Linked DNA regions of Homo sapiens: regions 1 and 2 are each linked to region 3. The links are contacts of gene promoters, found by promoter capture Hi-C in blood cells and fetal thymus (Javierre and others, 2016). All regions are on one chromosome and are shown on one strand. Each heading gives the region's core, a stretch centred on a gene start or on the middle of the fragment in contact. The rest is flanking DNA. Distances are from core to core; before and after follow the strand shown. Region 1 has its middle 130 kb from the start of LINC03056. Region 2 has its middle 81 kb from the start of LINC03056. Region 3 holds the start of AVPR1A (arginine vasopressin receptor 1A).

Region 1 (2,733 bases), core at 60-2,559, 350 kb after region 3:
TCCTTCAGAGCTATTTTGTATTTATTAAAAACGCATGTATATTAGAATGTGTTGAACTATTAAACTGCACATGGTTGGATTTAACTATGGAAGTCTCATCCAAGAGATTGAAGGAGAAATCGAAGGAACTGTGTCAAGACATCTGAAAATAGATTCCATCCTGATCTTACTCTTCTGCTACTGAATTAGTATATGTCAGGAGGAGATTGAAATCATGAAACGCTCATTTCAAATGAAGTAATTTCTATTAAAGATTATGTATTTCTCTTTTCCTCTGATTTTGGGGGAGGGATAGAAATGAATTATGGTACACTGACCTTGAAGATATGGAAAAACAGATTAACTAAAATTATTTACTTTTCATCTTGATTTTTGATCTAACATGCACCAAAAAAAGATCAGCGTATTTTACTAGAAGAAAATTGTAGTGTCCTTATAAGATTCTCAGATATCCCTTTACCCTCTGTCACTTACTAGTTGTGAGAGGTTAAGCTAGCAGTTTGATTACTCTAGGTCTCAGTTCTTCCAGAAACAAAATGAGAATAATAGTACCTGTCTAGAGGCATCAGACTGGGTCAAATGAAGTTTCAAGAACCTTTTCAACATAAAAGATTTTTAGTCGATAGACTTTCCTAATAATAAAGGTGCAGTTACTCTAGCCTGTATAAGCATCCTTAAGAAATTAAACCATTCCACATTAAAATTATCATTGTAAAATTTAATGCAATTTGTTTCAGAGAAATTCATATAGAATACTCAATATAAACAAAGAATAGTCCAGATCCATTAGTGTCAGGCTCTATAAAAATAGTAACAGCTGAAAGATTTCAAAGTGATAATGTGAGAGCATAAGTTAGAAAAATTACAGATATAATATGATTAGTTGTAAGATGCTCACTCTCACCTCAGAAGATTGAATACTTAATTCTGAGGATTTGGTTTTAGTTTTTTTTCATGAATATACAATAACTCAAAGTCAATGTAGAATAAATTGACTTTAAATATGTGCTACAATTCTTAAATTACATTGGGATAGTACATAAATGAATTAATTGCCAAATAATGTTTACTTCAAATTGATGTTAACAATTTTTGTTCTTAATTGGCAGGAAAAAATGTTAGTATTACCATTAATTTTTAAATTTGTCTTTTAATAAAATCCAAACAAATAAAGGGGTGCCTATAGAATGTCCAGAAATAAGTAATAAATCTAGATCTAGAAGAATGCAAGAAAGGAAGAAAAGAAACAAGAATAAAAAGGTACATAAAAGAAAACACAGAACTACATGGTAGATTTAAACCCAAATGTATCAATAATTACAAACATTTTCATTAAAACATTTCTTCTTTGGGTCTACTCCACTTACCAATGAGCCTTTGGTTTTCAGGTGAAATACAATTTCTAAACCACTCATTGTGCCTTTTTTTCTCTGCATTCTTCATATTTATTAAACGTTATTATTTACTCTCCTATTTCCTGAACTTTCATTCTAGAGATCTTCGGAAATGGTTCTTTATCCAAATAATGCTTTTTAATGAATTTCATGTCTCATATTAATTTTATCAGCAACATTTTGGTGAGTTGCTTGTAGCTTTGTTCTGTATCATTTTTCTTAGTCTCTTGAATTTCATTTTCCTCAAAATCAAAATATAATCTAATAACTTAAAGAATATAAAATGTCAGCTTTTCTACCAGTGATTTTGCTGAAACAAAATTTTTCGAGTGTTAATTATATGTCAGTAATAGGATGCTCAGAACTGAGTTTCTGTTTTAAACTTGAAAGCTAAAGACTTTTTCATTCTCATCTTATTTCTTCCATCTGTTTTAATGTTTATGATAATGGTAATTTGCTTTTTTCCCCCTTCCCTCTCATGTGTCTTTATACAATTAATAGTATGTTGATTGATATATTCAGTTTTATTTTTACTATGTCAGACTCTTTAGTCTTAGAGTTTCTTTATATTCCTCTGTCATATCTTTGAAAATAGTTTTTCATTATATATATATTAGAATAATATCAAATATATCTTTATTTTTAAAAATAGTTGCAACTGTTTTAATAGTTGCACATGGTTTTTAAAAATCAAATATTACCAAAAGATACATCCAAAAAAGCACTTCTTCTCTCAACCACATGCCACCCCCAGTTACTGCCCTCAGACAGTTAACTCTTCAACTATTTTGCTGTTTTTTATTTCCTCTGTGCTTCTAAATATGTGTATGCTGCTACTTCTGGATTTATCCGTTTTGTCATTACTTTTTGACTCCTTGATATGGCCCCCTTCACCTCATACCCTTTCCCTATCATCCCAATGGGGTCATAGTTAGTGCTTACATTATCATGAGTCATATTCCTTACTTATAGAACTTTCCTTTACTTATAGAACTTTCCCTTACTTACAGAACTTATAGAATTCTCTCCCCAATGCTCAAACATATCAAATAATACAGCAATTTCACTTTTTTTCCGTGTTGTCCTTTCTCCTGGAATAATCCATCCTTCTACTTCAGTTAGGATTTTTTTCTGACCCTCAGCATAGTTGTTATCCTGAAATTTTCATGGTTGTTTTCCTGTGCAGAATTCTCTGTTTTCTTCATCCCAAGTCTTCCTATTGCTTAGTTTACGCTCTCATTTTGCTAAAGCGTCTAATCTAGGAACTCCCTGAGAGTAGGGCGATATGAGTTAAACTTGGAGTTTTAACATATATAAATATTTCTTTATTTTCCCTCAT
Region 2 (2,700 bases), core at 116-2,615, 300 kb after region 3:
CACAATATTTTATCATAGGTATTTCTCAATGACAATATTCTCTAAAATTATGTATTCATCTATGTATAATAGTAATGATAACAGTAACTACCATTTATTGAGCTCTGCTATTGAGGAATTCTGGGTATTGTATAAAGCACCTTACATATATTATCAGTTATTCCTTAGAACGTCCTCATGAGGCAAGCATTTTTGAAGTTAAGCAACTTGCTTAAGGGCATAATGTTTATTAGAAACTGGGATTCAAACCAGACCTGCATCCTCCAAGGCTGATAGTCTTAAGTACAATATTCTATGGAATAAAAACTCATCTTTTAGGGAATATCTAAATTTTAACAATAAAAACCTCTATACATAAATTCTGTGCACATTTAAGTATCTTCTTAGGATTAATTGTTTGAAGTAGAATTAAGAATCTGAGGAGTTCAGCATGTATAAGATACTTGATATATATTACCAAATTGACCTTCATAAAGATGATATTAATTTATTTTCCAACCAGCAATGAAAGTGATTTTCATTTTACTTAACCCCCACCAAAAAATAGTTTTTTTGAAAAAAATCTTTATTTTTCTATTGTAACTTGTCATATTTTTAAATTATTTTATGACTACTAAGTTTATATATGTATCATCTTTTCTTTTTCCAATGTCCTATTCACTCCTTTACTCATGTTTCTATTAATGAGAACATATTTTACTTAATAATTTGTGAGAGTTTTTGTTATATTAAAGATAGGAAACTTTTGTCAGTCATATATGTTGCAAATACTTCCCCAGTTTGCCTTCTAATTTTGAAATTTTTTATGTAATAAAATGTATCAGTATTTTATTTTGTCTTTTGCTTTTAGCCTTGGAAAAATTTTTATACTTTTAAATTTTTATAGCTTCTTAATTTTACTTTGAACTCTTTAAACTCTCAGGAATTTATTTCAACAAAGGGATGAGGGAAAATCTACTTTTTTTGTCCAAATGACAATGCTATATTTTCTGTTTTATTAAATCATCTTGCCATTCACCATCAACTTAAAATGCCACCTTTAGCTTGGTATAAATTTCTATATATTTTAGAGTCTATTTCTTGCCTTTCTATTCTACATCTATGATTTATTCTTTTGTGACTACTATGGTACATTAATAACTGAAGTTTTATAATATGTTTTAATATTTGCAAGTGAAAGTTCAATTTCACACAAAATTTTTCTCTCTCAGAATGTTTTTGGACATTCTCATCTGTTCTTCCAGATGATTTTAGAAATGATTATGTCAAATCTCACAAAAAACGTCTGTGAAGATTTGTATTAAAATTACATTAAACATACAAATTATTTTGCAGAGAATTCTATTCTTAAAATAGTTGGTCTCCTTGGTATTCTTATAGTTATTAAACCCTAAGTCATCTTATTAAAATCAGGACTATTTTTATGAACTCGAGGCTTCCCAGGGAATATTTCATAGTCCTGTCTCCAGCCCTAATAAACATGGCCATTGCCATGTATGTCCCATTACAGCAAAAGGTAGTAATAATATAATAATTATAACAGTCATATCGGGCTTTTTAATCATCCAGGTTGGCTTCCATGTTCTCTAACATTAAAATACAGAAACTCCAAGCTCTTTGGTGACAAAGAATCTAATATGTAAATAATATATCAAAGCTAAAAATCTAAAGTCAATAAGCATTTCTCAGTTTGGAAAATCTTCAAAGGAATTAGCAGTCTCCTTCTAGTTTTTTCCACAGAGGAAACTGGGAAATTATTAATAGTTTTTTTAAATTTTCTCATAATCACTATAGTGCCCCGTCTCATGGCCTTATGTAGTGTACATATAATTATAAAATTTTCCCATCAAGCAACTTAAAATACATTTGCCTTATCCTGAGTCAGAGAACTCTAAAAAATTAGTAATACAGAATGGGATCTATAGCAGACACAATTTCCCTGAGGAATAACTGGTATTGCCAAATCCATAAAAAGAACTTTCCAAGAATTGGGGAACATAAAAGTCCAAGAATGAATGAGCTGTCTGCTTCCCACATAACTCAAATCCCTAAGCATCTTTGTGGGTACAGGACTTTGTGCATATGGCTAGAAGCTCATTAAATTATTGTGTATAAAATGTCTTCAAATTTTAGACCACTATTATATATGTCTCTAGCAGAAAAAGAACTGTCTTGTAGTATGGCAGGACTTACTAAAGGGCGTTCTGCTTAAAATATACATAAAAGGTGGTTCTGTAGGAATGAGTTTGAACAAGGCAGAGTTTAAGTTAAATAGGCCTCTTTACAATGGGATTTCTCAAGGTCTTTAATAGACAAATGTGAAACTTCAGGACAGGAAGAGTTTGCAGCACTTTCTGAACAATTGACACAGAATCTCTTTTTAAGGTAGTCACTAATGATCCAAGGAACCTTTTCAGGAATACTAACTACTGGGATAGAAGCCATGATCTCCACATTAGAAGGTTTTCTAGTTTTTCACCAAATAATAACAGCTGTTACTCACAATCATACATTTGCCTATAGAAAAGAGAAATGTAATTACATGCTGGATTCATTGGTGGGTTTTCATCTCTGAATTTGGATTCGAGACCCACTACTTACTGGCAACATGTGTCCTTAGTTACTCAATCTCAGATTTCTCATCTACAAAATGAAGGAAATGATAATATCTCATAGAATTTGTACAAAGATTAAAATAAC
Region 3 (2,700 bases), core at 144-2,643:
ACACACACACACACACACACTCCTATCCCTGCACTTTCCTCTATTTTCCCGGCACGTACCGGTCCAGACGGACATGGGATCCCAGACAGACCACATCTGGATGATGAAGAAAGGCGCCCAGCAGACGATGTAAGCCGTCACGATCACAAAAGTCATCTTCACCGTGCGGATCTTGGCCCGGGAAATGGACTTCACGCTGCTGACACAGGGTGCGAGCAGGAACCCCTTTTGGAAGGCCACACCCGCTTGCTCTGCACCCTTGCTCTGGCGCGACGCCGTCTTCCCGCGGACGTTGCACCAGATGTTGTAGCAGATGAAGCCGTAGCAGGTACCCAAGATGACCACGGGCGCCACAAAGATGCCGCCCGTCATCCAGGTCACGTAGGCACGAGAACCCCAGGGCTGGATGAAGGTGGCCCAGCAGTCGCGGGCCTTGGTGACATTGTTCACCTCGATCATGGAGAAGACGAAGTACTGCGGCGTGCTCAGCACGAAGCTCAGCACCCAGGCGGCCGCGATCATGAGGCGCGAGCGGCGCGCGGGCTGTTGCAGAGTCTTGAGCGGGTGGCACACCGCGATGTAGCGGTCGGCTGTCATGACTACCAGCATGTAGGCCGACGCAAACATGCCGAACACCTGCAGGTGCTTCACCACGCGGCACAGCCAGTCGGGGCCGCGGAAGCGGTAGGTGATGTCCCAGCACATTTGCGGCAGCACCTGGAAGAATGCCACGGCCAGGTCGGCCAGGCTGAGGTGTCGGATGAAGAGGTGCATGCGGGACGTCTTGCGCGGCGTCCGGTGCAGAGCCAGCAGTACGCTGCTGTTGCCCAGCACGGCCACCGCGAAAGTCACCGCCAGCACGGCGATCTCCAGTTTGGCCAGCTCCTCGTTGCGCACGTCCCTCGGTGGGCCGTTGCCCTCCCCGAGGGCTTCGGCCTCCCGGCTTGTGTTGCCAGCGCCGGTGGCCAGAGGCCACCATGGGCTGGAGTTGCCCGAGGGCCCCGCGTCGGGACCGGCGGAGAGACGCATGCTGTCCATGCAGCTCCTACTCGGCCCTCTTCGGAGCTCCAGCCCTCGCGGGCCGCTCCCTCCCCGTCTCGGAGGACTTGGGCTCCTCGTCCGAAGCGCAGGGTCTTTGGCGCGCTCGCAGCTTGCCGGGCTCTGCGATCCCTCCAGTGGGCGTCTCCCGGAGCAGCGTCCCGCCTGCCCACTGAGCAGCTCTCAGCAGGGTGAGCTGGCCCCTCTCCCTGCTCTGCCTTTTTTCAACTTCGGCGAGGTCGGGAAGGTGAGCTCCGAGCTTCCGGAAGCACTGGGTTCCCAACTCAAGTATTTATGCGGTGCTTGTTTCCTTGGGACGCGCTCCCTCCCGCCCTATTGCCGGAAGACTGCTGGTTGCCTACTCCCCGCTCCCTGGAGTTTTATTTTTTCCTCTCCCTACGTCGGTGTTTGTCCTCTGCATCACTGTGGAGGGGGTGGAGCTGGGAGACTCGCAGATTCCTCCTCACAGTAGGTGGGATCGTGGCGCTTTCCCGCTTTTCCCTTCCAAAAACTTGGACAACTGGACGAGTCATGCCTTTTCTGGGCTCGTAGCCGTTTCCACAAGCTTCCCTCACTAGCCTTCCTCGCTAGCCTCCTTAACCATGCATTTGACTTCAACAGGCACGCTAAGCGCGGTACCTGGAAACCTCCAGTCCACGCACCGGCGTCCACGCATCTAGCTCCTGCACCTGAACCTGGCTCTCGACCTCACCTCCTCCAGTCCGGGTTTCTTCCTTCTCACCGAGCTCACCCGTGCAGCAGTCTGGCAAATTTTATTCCCCAGGCAAATTTTCCCGGGGCAAACATTTCTCCCCGCTCGTGACTTAAAGAGCTATCTCTTCCTAGTAACGTCTTTGATGCATGCTATTTATTACCCTATGTTTGCGACGGGAAGAACGCACTCATCACTTTGCAGCCCCAGTGGCTGCTGTGCCTGTATTCACAGCGGGGTTTGGGGGGAGTGTCTCCTGGTTTTCTCTATGGAGACTAGGGACTTAAGGAGTTTTCTCTAGATTCCTGGGGTTTTCTGCGGGAAAAGCCTGATTCCCACAGCGGGGATGGCGGAAATTTGGCCGCAGTGGTCCGTGGGGACCGTCTGGTTACTACTGAGTCGTGGGGACATCTTTTTGGGTGGACAAAGAGCAGCTGCCGGACAGCGGCCATCCAGGCAGTGCTGTCCAGGGCAAGGGACAGAAAACCCGCCCGGCTCCTGTGCTCAGGAGTAAGAAAGAGGCAATCTCAAAGAGAGGAAAGAGGCCCTGGGAAGGAGGGGAAACAACCACCTACCTAGTAATCCGTTACTCTGAACAGCTGGAGCCCCTCTGCAGGGCGGGAGGGAGGCAGAAATGCGATCTCCCTCAGCTCTGTTTTAACGTTGGTGAAGATATGCCTCGACGGACAGCAAGGGGGAGCTGTTTTCAGGCAATTTTACAAGGAAGAAAGGAAGCCGTTTCTGCAGTTATCTGCTGTGTAGATGCAGGAGCATGACTTTGTTGGTCAGAACGTTTCAGTATTGTGGCCGTGGTATAAATTTAATTGCCTCAGAAAAATATCACCCTCTGTGAAACGTAGGCAAAAAATGCAAAAGATTTTATTCATTGCAGTTCTCAGTAATAATTCCACTTTACTATCCAGTCCGTTCATGCAGAGTTACCAAGGTTG

Evidence for each region. The method cuts DNA at HindIII sites, captures the fragments that hold promoters and counts their contacts. A CHiCAGO score of 5 or more calls a contact.
Region 1: a contact is called between a fragment that was not itself captured here and the fragment with the promoter of AVPR1A in region 3, in 2 of 17 cell types (M2 macrophages and megakaryocytes). The highest score is 5.7, in M2 macrophages.
Region 2: a fragment that was not itself captured here is called in contact with the fragment with the promoter of AVPR1A in region 3 in 4 of 17 cell types (M2 macrophages, M0 macrophages, megakaryocytes and 1 more); the score reaches 10.1 in M2 macrophages.

Annotation. Positions count from the first base shown.
Region 1 is chr12:63,501,225-63,503,957 of GRCh38, forward strand. No RefSeq gene overlaps it. Among named protein-coding and RNA genes, the nearest start is that of LINC03056, 130 kb to the left of the region's middle. The HindIII fragment of the contact is 2,922 bases long and covers 1-2,733 here.
Region 2 is chr12:63,453,585-63,456,284 of GRCh38, forward strand. No RefSeq gene overlaps it. Among named protein-coding and RNA genes, the nearest start is that of LINC03056, 81 kb to the left of the region's middle. The HindIII fragment of the contact is 5,832 bases long and covers 1-2,700 here.
Region 3 is chr12:63,149,808-63,152,507 of GRCh38, forward strand. AVPR1A (arginine vasopressin receptor 1A) reads right to left here and starts at 1,394. Exons shown (of 2, transcript NM_000706.5): 1 at 60-1,394. The coding sequence starts at 1,029. The HindIII fragment of the contact is 3,248 bases long and covers 1-1,601 here.